2 separate regions of the Homo sapiens genome follow, and region 1 is linked to region 2. The links are contacts of gene promoters, found by promoter capture Hi-C in human tissues and cell types (Jung and others, 2019). All regions are on one chromosome and are shown on one strand. Each heading gives the region's core, a stretch centred on a gene start or on the middle of the fragment in contact. The rest is flanking DNA. Distances are from core to core; before and after follow the strand shown.

Region 1 (6,825 bases), core at 2,856-5,355, 220 kb before region 2:
AAGAAATGGATGCTCCTATGCCCAGGCTCAGTCAGGGACTTGGGAGATACTATACTTGGGATGGGAGTAAGTGGAATGCCAGCTGCCATGCATAATGCAGTGGTGTTCATGGTGGTTGGTCAGCCCACACTGTATCAAGCTCTGCAGATTTTTACTCTGTTAATGCACATATTACCTCATTAGTCTTGGCCTTCCTGGGGAGTTGTATGTAACATGTATTTTCTCTCTCATAGTGATTGACGACACAACCAAAGAGGTGGTGTATAGGGATTATATTGACATCAGTGTTGCAGTGGCCACCCCACGGGTATGTTGGGGCAGGAGGTGGGGAATGTTGGTCTTAGACCCTCACCTTATCTGTGTGAAGGAGATCACACAAGAGAAATCATTTCTTTAATTCTGTATTTTTAGAAGGGAGTTAGTAAAAGTAACCTTTTTTTTCTTTTAAACCATGCCGCATTCTTTTAACACTTTCTGTTAATCACACTGAGTAATGAAGGTATTCTAGGGAGGGCATACCATGGGTTGAATCAAGGGAGTTGTTAACTATAAAAGGTACTATTAATTTGCAACTGAAAACAGCTTTTCACCCCCTTCAGGGTCTGGTGGTTCCAGTCATCAGGAATGTGGAAGCTATGAATTTTGCAGATATTGAACGGACCATCACTGAACTGGGAGAGAAGGTAAAGTAGAAAGATGTATACAAGCTGCTAAGCAGGCGAGGGAAGAGAGCCTTCAGAAGGCTGGGCTCACTAGCAAGCAGTGCTCATGGAAAGTCAAGTGCATAGCCCCTGAGAAAAGCAGTTGCCCATGAGAGCTAAGTATTTTATATATCTGGTGGAGTTTACCATGCTCTGGTAACTGAAATCTCATCAGATGAGACCTGCTAGAAAAGATCATCTTTGAAGTCTTCAACTGTATGAAATTGTGCCTTTTCTCTGGTGGAGCACTGGTCATAGACACCTTAGCCGAACAACTGTCACACGGAAGCTAGCGCTTGTGCCATCGATCTCGATACAAGCTTTCTGGACTTCCTTTGCTTTTTTGTTTTTAGAGGCAGGGTCTCGCTGTGTTGCCCAGGCTGGAGTAGAGTGGTAGAGTCATAGCTTACTGCAGCCTTGCACTCCTGGGCTCAAGCGATTCTCCTGCCTCAGCCTCCCAAGTAGCTGGGACTACAGGTGTGCACCACCATGCCTGGCTAATTCTTAAGTTTTTTATACAGATGGGGGTCTCACTATGTTGCCCAGGTTGGCCTTGAACTCCTGGCCTCAAGCAGTCCTCCTGCCTCGGCCTCCCAAAGCGCTGGGATTATGGACTGACTTTAGGTGAAGGAAACTGGGTTGGCTTGATATTTCAATTATGAAATCTGTTTTTAGGCCCGAAAGAATGAACTTGCCATTGAAGATATGGATGGCGGTACCTTCACCATTAGCAATGGAGGCGTTTTTGGCTCGCTCTTTGGAACACCCATTATCAACCCCCCTCAGTCTGCCATCCTGGGGATGCATGGCATCTTTGACAGGCCAGTGGCTATAGGAGGCAAGGTAGGAACCGTCACTTCTAAGGTCCTAGTGGCTAGGTCTCGATGAAAGGGAAATCCAACTAAATGCTAATTGTAAAACATTAACTATAATTTCAGGCCTAAGTTCCATTTCTTAGTTTCTAATAGCTAAGGCACTGATTATCAAATTGTGGTCTGGATCAGCATCATCTGGGACCTTATTAGAAATGCATATTCTTAGACCCCATCCCAGACTTAAAGAAGAAGTGCAGATGATCCTGATGCATATTCAAGTTTGAGAACCACTGAGCTGAGGAGGCTTGTTTGCTTCTATGGAGTGGGGGATATAGTTGGAAACGTGGTCCCTTGCCCCTGGGAAACAGATGACAATTATGCATGTCAGTCTGTGAGCTGCCAAGTTGTATGATAAAGCTTGTAAATTTCCCGGGAGTTCAGAGAATTAAGTATTAAAAGGGGCTTGAGCTGGCCCTTAGAAGATACGTTGGTATCAAAAAAGCTTTCTGGGAACTCCTGTGTTTAGAATCCTTTTGGGTTACTGACTCCTGTGTGAAACCACAGTCTGTAGATCTTCCTGGAAAATGCCCATACACCCAGCTACACATACAATTCCAGAATTTGTAGACCCTGGCTTAATTTTTTTTTTTTTTTTTAAATTCTAACCCCAGAGAGAAGCAAGTACAGGCAGCCAGAACTGAAGGGAAAACTTTCCTTGTAGGCAGCAGATGCGTTAGAGGGCAGAGTATGTTTTTAAAAAATAAAAGGCAGTTGTGAGAAGACAGTTTTCTTGGCAAACTTTGTTTCTGAGTGGGGAAGCTTTGCACTGAGGGTAAGTCCTGGTCTTTGAAATACTGTAAATATGCAGAGGCAACATCAATAGGAAAGGCTCTGGAATTAGGAACTTTCTTATGGGCTGTGCTAAATCTCCTTCAGCGAGGCTGGCTGTGGCTTGCTGGAGACAAACCTATTTACCTTTCCTCTCTGTAGGTAGAGGTGCGGCCCATGATGTACGTGGCACTGACCTATGATCACCGGCTGATTGATGGCAGAGAGGCTGTGACTTTCCTCCGCAAAATCAAGGCAGCGGTAGAGGATCCCAGAGTCCTCCTCCTGGATCTTTAGGAGGAACCCACACACCCTACAAGTTGATCATGCAGGAACTGAAAACCAGTCTTCTCCCTGTCCCCTCATGGGTCCCGGGTTAGCCTGGTGACAGGCAGACACATGCTGTTGGCCTCAAGCAAGGAAGCAGAGCACTGTGTAACCAGCAGTCACAGGTCTTTTCTTGGCGTTCCTGCCAGGCTCTCCCTCTCTGCACCTGTCTCATAGCCTCGAATATCTTAATTCCTTAGGCTTAAGAGAGAGAGCCTTAATGGATGCTCATTCATATTCCTGCCTTTCTTCCATCAGCTCTCTGCAAAGATGATTTTGCTTTTCCCTAGTGCTGGTATACTATAGAGAAACCCCTGGGGACCATGTGATTAAGTTCCTATCTTTTGAAAGTTTGTTCTGCAGAGACTTCTAGGAGGATGCTGTGCCTCCCAAGCTCAGAGCAGCCTCTGTCCTGGCTGTGCACATTCTCCCTTGATTCCACTTGTGTGGAGGGATTGAACACAGGCAAAGAGGTGCTGCTTTGCTTCTTCAATGGCACCTTCATTCTCCGTTGTCATTGACTTCAAGATGCCTCTTCTACCTCTTCCAGGAAGCACAGGCCAGGGGATCTGGGTGTGTGAGTGGGAGGAGAGGGCAGAGGTCCCCTGAGGTCATGCATTGTAATCATCATAGAAGGAGAGCCCAGGCCTGCCCTCACGCTCTCCATCATAGGCTGACACCAAGAAGACTCGTCTTGGCACAATCTCACACAGCTGGGGCTGTAGCAACCCTTTCCAACCCCTTTGCTGGTTGCTGGGCCTCATTCTAGCACCTTGTTCTTAGAGCAGATTCTAGCACATCATGGCAGTGGGACCAAGCGTGGTCCCGAGGAAGGGCCAGAGCCTGGTAGAGACTAGGGAAGGGAGGTCTCCTCTAGACTGACTCACATTGCCTTGAGCTTTTCAGTTAAGTTGCTGTAAGCACCTGGGCTGAGGAGGCAGTTTTTGTTCCTTCCTGCGTTATAGCGGGGCCTTGTCTCTTCCTCTGCAGGACACAGATCTGGAGGACGTGGACTGGGGTAGGAAACCACCCTGAGGGTGTTAGTACCTAGTGGTGAAACGGATGAGGTCATTTCTAAGGTGTGTTGCCCGTGGATCTGGGCACAATCATTGGAATTCCTTGGAGCCACTGGGATTCATGGCTTTGTATCCAACTGCATCCAGGCCTGAGGCTGCTGACGTTTGACACCAGGGCCAGTAGAGAGTGCCCTTTTGTATCTTAAGCCAAGAAGTGAGGCCTGGGGGTGGGGGAGGGGGGAAGGGGTGGGAGCCAATACTGAGTGCCTGCAGCATCTACTACTCTGTCTTCACTATTCAGAACTTGTAACTAAAGTATTTAAAGAAACTGATTTTAAATGCAAATTAAAGGGCAGATATTCTCAAACAGGGTTCCTGTATCTGTTCCTTTTGGCTACTGAGGTGGTACAAGTCCCCAGCACTGTTGCACTGAAATTATTGAAAGCCACTCAAGGTCCTGTTGCTTATTTTGTGAAATCAGAAATCCCTTATGTGGAACTTAACACTCATAATTTGACAGAAGGTAGAACCCTGACTGCCAGCCGGGAAAGTGTTGCCAAAAAGAGTCAACCTCTGTAAAAATATTTGAAGAGATTTATTCTGAGCCAAGTGTGAGTGACTGATGGCCTGTGATACAACTCTTAGGAGATCCTGAGAACATGTGTCCAGGGTCGTCTGGCTACAACTTAGTTTTATACATTTAATACATTTTAGGGAGACATAAGATACCAGTCAGTACATGTAAGATGTACAGTGGTTTGGTCTGGAGAGGCAGGACAGCTCAAGACCTGGGGATGTTGTCATAGGCAGAATCAAAGATTTTCTGATTGGCAATTGGTTGAAAGAGTTATTATCTAAAGACCTGGAATCAATAGAAAGGAATGTCTGGGTTACAGTAAGGGGTTGTGGAGACCAAGGTTTTATGCAGATGAAGCCTCCAGCCAGCAGGCTTCAGAGAAAATAGATTGTAAATGCTTCTCATCAGACTTAAGGAGCCTGTTTTAACAGTAATTCCAAAAGGGAGGGGAGTATAATGAGGAATGGCTGGCTCCCTCTTCCCACCATGGCCCGAACTAGCGTTTCAGGTTAACTTTGGAATACCCTTGACTGAGACGAGGGGTCCATACAGATGGTTGGGGGGCTTAGGATGTTTTTTGTTTTGTTTCCATAAAGCATCATAGTCTCTTAGTGCCCCACCTTCCTTGAGCCTGTCAAGCCATACTCTAGAATAGAGAATTTGGGGTCACCATCTTTGTGAAGCCCTTTCAAAACACCAGTAGACTTGCATTTTTTGTGTGGGCTTACATTATTTCAGTGATGGATTTGGGAGGAGTGGGGGCATCTCATTTCATTTGGATTTGATAGCCTTGTGGACCAAGATGCTCAAGGTCAATACACATGAACAGGTGAGGGTTGATGACCTAGGAGCAGTGGTCAGTGAGCGTGAGTGTACAGGGTGGGTAGCTAACCTAGACTGCAGGTGGCAGGTGTGATGGAGTCCAGGCTTAAACACAGCCTTGTCTTTTCCAGAGTCCCTGTCTGCTGAGCTCTTGCAGTGAGGCCATCCCTCTGTGAAGGTCTGTCACAGGAGGGAAGTGGGTCCCAGAGAGTAGAACTAGAGCTCTAGTAGATAGAAAAACAAATTAGGTTGAATGAAAGGAAGAACAGGATTTGGTGTTAGAAGCTTTAATTTATCTATCTGGTAAACCTGCAAAATAGGCATTATTTACCCCATTTTATCGAAAGGAGGTCGACTGTAAGAGCTGGGACCCACAGTATTCTAAACTCAGGGCCCAACAAAGTGTCAGATGTGTAGCTTTGGGTGGATGAAGCACAGAAGTTCCAGAAGGGACTTGTGCTTCATGAAGCGGTGGTTGGAAGTGGTCCAGCCTGACTTAGGGAGAGTAGCAGAAGGAACACTAACTTGCAACTCTGGCTAGGTTGTGTCCTTAACCTTTTTGAGCTTCAGTTTTCTCAGGAGCTACCGTCTGTTGCAAGGGGTCACTGTGAGGATGAAACTGGTATTCCCCCAGGCACCATGAGCCTCTTCCAAGGCTTCTTCATCCTCTTCCCCACAGAACCTGGTCCTCCCCGACCCCACCCCTTCCCCTGAGGCCCACATGGCATGCTGCTCACCACCAGCCCTGCGTCCTACTTCCTGGCAGCCCCAAGCTCGCTCTTGACTTCACTCTGGAGCTTCTACAGGGGAGCCTTCCAACCTGCCCCAATGAGCCGTGGTCATTGCATGGAAGAAGCGAGAACACCGTAGGCCAGAGCAGGCTTTATTGGGGCCGTGTAAACCCCAGGGAGAGGCAGGACGTGGACCACAGAGAGTCATGTACAGGCTGCGCTTTCACTTGTCTTCTCTGTCTCAGTCTCCTGAAGAGCCCGAGGAAGTCAAGTCTCCCCACCATGAGTGAGGGGTCTGGTCTGACAGTTGGGCCTTCAGAGCCAGGCACGTGGACCGTGTCAGAAGCGCCACCTGGTGGTGACTGGGATGCTGGCAGGGAGGAGCTGAGGGCAAAACTCTAGTGGAAATTTCCCAGGTCGGTCCCACGCCCCGGTGACAGGGTGAACCCTGAGAGGAGCCCCCAAACTGGAGGCAATTGTCTTTGAGGTAACCACTCACCCCAGCTTTTCAGAGACCAGAGGCAAGACATTTCTGGCTAAGAGCCATGGATAGTTGTTCCATGCGTTTTGTGGTTTCTTATCCCAAAAGGGCATGAAGTCACAGTAGGCAGTGACATGGTAAACAGCCAGGGCCTGAGAGGGAGTCCTGATGGGCACACCTTGTCTAAACTGCTTTGGCCTGGAAGCTGAATTGCTGTCCTCTTGCACCCCTGGGGCAGGCTGCCCCTCTTCCCCCACACAGGCCCACTGGGGAGGAGGACTCTTGATTCTGGTTTCAGACTTGCTCTAAGGGGCAGACCCATGCATTCCTTCCTCCCCCCATTACTCTTATTTTCTTCCCCTCCCTTTTGCTCTCCCAAGTCTGAAATCACAAGATAGGGGGCATGGTCAGGAATCGGGGGTGGGGGGGTGGGGGTGGGGGTCATCCTGTCCCCTACCTCATCCCTCCCTGCACAACAGATGGCATCCCTGCTTCTGGGCCTCCCCAGCTGCACGAACAGCTTCTGG
Region 2 (6,305 bases), core at 506-3,005:
TTACTAACAATGGTCAACTTATTTTCCTACTGAAATATAAGCTTCTAGAGAAAAAGAGTGCTTCTGAACTTTTGTAAATTCACAGATCTAATAAATATTTGGTGATATGGACAACGCTATGCAATTTTTGGGAAGTGTAATCAAATTTAACTCAAAACCAACCCAGTAATCAAGTTCAACAGGATAATAATAAAAAGGCAATGGGCAAGATGTGAGACTTTAGTTCTAGTCCAAGATTTACTTGTAACTTAAGTGAGCAAGTCACTTAAGTATACTGTTTTAGTTTCTCTAACTAAAATATAGAAATAACAATCCTTATCTCCTCTTTCTCATTTTGAGTGCAAAAAAGAAAACAGACTACTAAGAATAACTAACTCTAACATCATACATTAACGTGGCATCAGGATAAAAAAGAACACTTAAAAATATTCTCTTGCAACCACTTCTCTCCTTCTCCATCTTTCAGCCTTAAAAGTATGCTGGCTTGGAACACACACCAGAACTGCAGATGGATTTCCGACGGATGAATCACCTTCAGCAACCCCAGCAAGTTCTCATTAAATGTTTACCCTAAAGTAAGATTTTATGATCAAATCTAGTGTATCGTTAGTTTTTGGAAGTAGAATAATCACTGCAGGGTTTTACACTAGTATATATTAACTTGGGATTCCGTGATCCATGGATCTCTCCAAAGGATGTGCATATGTGCAAATGTGTTGATGGAGGGGGCAAGATTACTTTGCTTAGGTTATCAAAGGGGTCCTTGTGCCCCCCAAATTAAGAACTAATGGCTTAGAATATACCAACAAAGTATTTCCCATGCATAAACCCTGCAAGATAAACACTGATAAAGAACCAACACACAAAGATCTTCCCAATGAGCTTCAAGAAAAGCTTCCAACTGAGTGATCACTGCTGAACTTAAAGATAATGACAAAAATAACGGAGTTGCCACGGGTGTGGGGATTTTGAAGCTATGCCCCTCCTCCTCACCCCGACCTTGGAGAACTATATATACAGCATGAGAGGAAGGAAGTTTTGGCAATACCTCACATTCGTATACCACTTTAATTTACAGAACAGAGCCTTCGTTTGATTCTCAAGATAATCTTAAAAAAAAAAGAAAAAGATGATTTCAAGGTATTATCAGTAAGCCCATTTTACAGATGGGGAAACTAAAGCTCAAGAGACGGTTAGGTGACTTAGGACAATCAAAAATGACTAGTCAAACCAATGATCTAGCCAATTTCTAGTGCCGGTGAGTGGGAAGAGTGGTGAAGACCCTAAGACATATACCCCGTGGGCGCCTAAAGCACTAAGCTCACGACGCTGGGAAAGCGGGGCCGAGAAGGAGGGACTCGGGGCGACCCGACAGCGCCAGACAGGGCGGCCGGCGCCGAGGGCCGCTACCTCGGTGCGGCGGTACAGCGTGGCTTCCCCGAAGGCGCCGCGGCCCAGGACGCGGATGGGGATGTAGTGCAGTTCCTCCTGCTCCGCCGCGCCGCCGCCGGCTCGCGGCCCCTGACTGGCGCTAGGCCCCGGACTCGAGTCCCCGCAACCCCCGGACTCGCTCCCAAAGTCCGAGTTGATGGAATCGCAGTGTCGCTCGTACTCGCCCAGCACCGACATGGCGGCGGCCGCGGGCCTTGGGGACCAGCCTGCGTATGCCCGGAGGCCCTGGCCGCGCTGCGTCCCGCTCGCTTCAGATGCCGGCCCGCGGATCCGTCAGCCCAGCAACCCCGCGAAGCTCGATGGTGGCTCCTGCCCCCCGACCCGGAAACAGTTCTCTGTGTTTCCGGCCTGGCTGAGTTTCCTCCGCCTTTGCTTACCCTCTTGGCTAGTCTAGCGGCCAAGGCTTCCCGCTTTCGGGGAAGGCCTGCAAAGTGAGGCCTCGGGCTAGGGTTGGCGGGCGCGTGGTGGGAACCGCGTGGAACCGAAGGGCTCCCACGGGAACAAGGGCATCACTGACGGTACGGCCTCTCGGGTCTATTGACCCTTCTCTGCCTCCCCGGTCCGGACTCATACAACTTGGAGGCCCAGAGGTCGTCCAGTCTCATCTTGACGTCAGGTCTGTGACAAGAGGGTGATTGGGGAAGCATTCCCAGTGTACACCTTCTTCCCCATTCCAACGTTGGACAGCATTCTTTTTTAGAGAGATAGTATAGTAAAGATAATATGGCCGGGCAAGGTGGCTCACGCCTGTAATCTCAGCATGTTAGGAAGCCGAGGCGGGCGGATCACCTGAGGTCAGGCGTTTGAGACCAGCCTGACCAACTGGTGAAACCCCGTCTCTATAAAATACAAAAATTAGCCAGGCGTGGTGGCAGGCACCTGTAATCCCAGCTACTCCAGAGGCTGAGGCAGGTGAATCACTTGAACCCGGAAGGAGGAGGTTGCAGCGAGCCGAGATCGCGCACTACACTCCAGCCTGGATAACAGAGCGAGACTTTGTCTCAAAAAAAAAAAAAATAATAATAATATAGACAGCCTAAATGTCTGCCTCCGGTCATCTCGGTCCCTGGGCCGAGTTCTTTCTCCCAGGGCCATCCTAAGTCCCTCCCTCTTCTACACAACTCCAAAAATATTTTAAGTCAACTCTCCTGACACTTTCCTTCTCCCCCGTCTCTTTTTCCAGATTCAATTTATTCTATGTGTTTTTCCAGATATTTGACCATATGATATCATGAAACATTCTTTGAGCACTTGGTGCCACACACTGTTTGGGAACAGGAAATCTGCAATAATGTTCTCCCTACCGTCAAGTAGGAAAACAGCAATACGGTGAACAATAGGTGTTCCATCAGTTATGTGACCTTGGGCAATTATGTGACCTTGGGCAACTTCTCATCTCCAAGCTTGTTTTGTTGTGAGAATGTGGTCTACATCACAGACATAACAGCTAACATTTATTGAGTGTTATGTTCTGGGTACTATGCTAAAGGTTTTTTACGTATTATCTCACATTATTATGTATTATCCTATGTATTATGTATTATGTATTATCCTAACATTCCCATTTTACAGAAACAGAGGTACCTAAGTAACCTGCTTAATGTGACAGACCTAGTAAGAGGGAGCTGGGAAGTTGAACCCAGCAATCTGAAAAAGCAGGATGTGATGGGGCTAAGAGAAAGCCATGTGCCTAGCCGGGCGTGGTGGCTCACACTTGTAATCCCAGCACTTTGGGAGGGCCGATCACTTGAAGCCTGGAGTTCGAGTTCAGCCTGGCCAACATGGTGAAACCCCGTGTCCACTAAAAATACAAAAATTAGCCAGGCGTGCACACACCTGTAATCCCAGCTACTTGGGACGCTGAGGCACAAGAATTGCTTGAACTGGGGAGGCGGAGGTTGCGGTGAGCCAAGATCATGCCACTGCACTCGAGCCTGGGCAACAGAGTGAGAACCTGTCTCAAATACATAAAAATACATTGTGTCATATCGATTTGTGAAAAGTTCCTACTTTAAGAGAGCTTACATGTAACAGAAAACCACCAGGCAATTAAAACAGTTTCTATAAGGGCTATTAAAGTGCAAGATTCTAGAGAGGCATTTAGGAGTGGCATCTGTCCAAGCCAAACTTGCTGTGTGAGTGCAGGAATATACAAAATGTTAAGTCTAAACAAAGTAGAGAGATCATTTCAGGTAGAGGCCATTCCATCTACATCCTCCTATTAATTAGAAGGCACTTTGAGGATAGGTATTGCCTCTTGTTTATCTAGATAAACTCCAGAGTTTAGTTTGGCTTAAATCTGTTAATTCTATTAACTTAATTCTGTTATTCTCGATTAACTCTGTTAAACAGAAAAGATGCTCAATAAATTGTTTCTCAGTTGAATGGGAAAAAACCAATTACTTAAAATTGGGAATGCTGACTTTCAAAGAGGCTGAATAGATTTCAGCCTAAGCTTAAAAATTCATTTTTTTCTGGCACCTTTGCAACGAGGAACTAGTTTTCTATAACGTGGTTGGCCTGAAACTGAATTGTTCTAATGATAATGCATAGATACTACAAGCCTAGAAGAAACATGTCCTATTATAGAGCAGAGACATTCCTGCTGAATTCTTCATTATATTGGATATAACTGAAACTAATTGTCTTACCTTTGAATATTTATAAGTTCAAAAATAGTCAACATTTATTCTAATGGTATAACTTTTTTTTTTTTTTTGGAGACAGTCTCACTCTGTCACTCAGGATGGAGTGCAGTGGCATGATCTCAGCACACTGCAGCCTCCACCTCCCAAGTTCAAGTGATTCTCATGCCTCAGTCTCCTGAGTAGCTGGGATTACAAGCGTCCGCCACCATGCCCAGCTAATTTTTGTATTTTTAGTAGAGAGGGCATTCTGCCATGTTGGCCAGGCTGGTTCTCGAACTCCTGACCTCAAGTGATTGGCCTGCTAAAGTGTTGGGATTACAGGTGTGAGCCACTGCACCTGGCCAAGGTGTAAAATTTTAAAGCGCCTTTGGTTGAAACCAAACTATTTCCACATTGTACTTTAACAAGTGAATGGTTAGAATGCTATTTTGCATTAGTTTCCAATTTGTGAATGGCAAATTCCCAGGGGCCATAGAGTTACTGTCAAGATGAAAGAATCTACCAAAGACCAACCCAAGTTTATACCCTTCACTGTCTGCCACGGTAGCCATTAGCTACATATAGCTACTCAACACTTGAATTGTGGCTAGTCTAATTTTAAGCTATAGATGCGGTATAGCTTGAAATGCACACTGGATTTTCAAGATTTTATATGAAAAATGGAATGCAAAACATCTCATTAACCATTTTTATATTAACTATATGTTGAAATAATATTTTGGGTATATTAGGTTAAATACACTACTAAAAATAATTTTCGGCTGGGCACAGTGGCTGATGCCTATAATTCCAGCACTTTGGGAGGCCAAGGTGAGCAGACCACGAGGTCAGGAGTTCGAGACCATCCTGGCCAACATGGTGAAACCCCATCTCTACTAAAAATACAAAAATTACCTGGGCGTGGTGGCATGTGCCTGTAATCCCAGCTACTCGGGAGGCTGGAGAATCAGCAAATTTTACCTGTTTTTTACTTCTTTAATGTGATACTAGAAAATTTAAAATTATACATGCAGCTCAACATTTTATGAGACACCACTGCAGCAGACTAAATAAATGATTTATAAAGCATGTATTGGGCCGGGCACGGTGGCTCACGCCTGTAATCCCAGCACTTTGGGAGGCTGAGGTGGGTGGATCACGAGGTTGGGAGTTCAAGACCAGCCTGGCCAACATAATGAAACTCCATCTCTACTAAAAATACAAAATTAGCTGGGCGTGCTGGTACATGCCTGTAATCCCAGCTACTCGGGAGGCTGAGGCAGGAGAATTGCTTGAACCCGGAAGGCGGAGGTTGTGGTGAGCCGAGATCATGCCATTGTACTCCAGCCTGGGCAACAAGAGTGAACTCCGTCTCAAAAAAAAAAAAAAAGAAAAGAAAAAAAAATTATACCCCAATAATGGGAACCACTACTTTACACACTATGGATTCATAATAAAATTTATTTGAGGGAGAATGGAGATAAGAGGATAAATAAGAGGCCAGCCAGTGGGTGTGCAAAGCACTTCATATTGGCTCTTGGAAAGTCGCTTTGTGAAAAATGTTCAACTGTAAGTGAAAGGAGAGGAGAAAAGACGTTTACCTCCTGGAGTGGGGTTTTGCATTGGATATGATAGGCCTAAAAAGTGAGTCCTGAGGATTCATATACCGGGGGTGGGGGGTGGGGGTCTTTTAGGAATGAAAGGCAGGGGAGATGGCTCTCTGTAGGAGTGATTCTATGCAATTGCAATTTTAATTGCAAAAACCACAATTACTTTTGTGCGAACCTAATAGTAACAGTTTCCAAAAGAGAGAAGATAAAGAGAATAAAATGCCTAGCTTACAGAACCATATTTGGTCTGAGGATGCATAATTAAGGATTCTTAATTATATATATATATATAATTTACATATATTACATACAAAATATGATAATCTTTTACTAGCTCATATAAACTATCGATCTGCAGTAACTGAAGAATAACAATATTTTTTCTCTAATTCATCAGGTATAATTTGCCATAATTTAAAAGAGAAATATGGAAGAATTATCACCAATCCAGACATAGAAGTACTCAAGAGTAACAGTACACCTAAAATGGTTTCTGCTAGCCTTTATTTGAGAAAATTTACACAAAAATCCCCAATCCAACATTTACAAGTGAATCTGTATAAATCCCATATGCCTCTTTCCCAAACAAACCAAGAAATGGCTTTATGACAGGGGT

Evidence for each region. The method cuts DNA at HindIII sites, captures the fragments that hold promoters and counts their contacts. A contact is called where the count stands out against the background at its distance.
Region 1: a fragment that was not itself captured here is called in contact with the fragment with the promoter of NEK9 in region 2 in 1 of the 25 tissues and cell types used here (hippocampus).

The regions. Positions count from the first base shown.
Region 1 is chr14:74,899,690-74,906,514 of GRCh38, forward strand. It overlaps DLST (dihydrolipoamide S-succinyltransferase), which reads left to right. Exons shown (of 15, transcript NM_001933.5): 12 at 234-307; 13 at 600-683; 14 at 1,377-1,544; 15 at 2,507-4,054. The coding sequence ends at 2,641. It overlaps RPS6KL1 (ribosomal protein S6 kinase like 1), which reads right to left. Exons shown (of 12, transcript NM_031464.5): 12 at 4,262-6,825. Among named protein-coding and RNA genes, the nearest start is that of RPS6KL1, 20 kb to the right of the region's middle. The HindIII fragment of the contact is 5,256 bases long and covers 1,478-6,733 here.
Region 2 is chr14:75,125,293-75,131,597 of GRCh38, forward strand. It overlaps NEK9 (NIMA related kinase 9), which reads right to left and starts at 1,756. Exons shown (of 22, transcript NM_033116.6): 1 at 1,411-1,756. The coding sequence starts at 1,629. TMED10 (transmembrane p24 trafficking protein 10) reads right to left here. Exons shown (of 5, transcript NM_006827.6): 5 at 6,177-6,305. RefSeq lists enhancers at 1,620-1,669, 1,680-1,809. The HindIII fragment of the contact is 2,914 bases long and covers 468-3,381 here.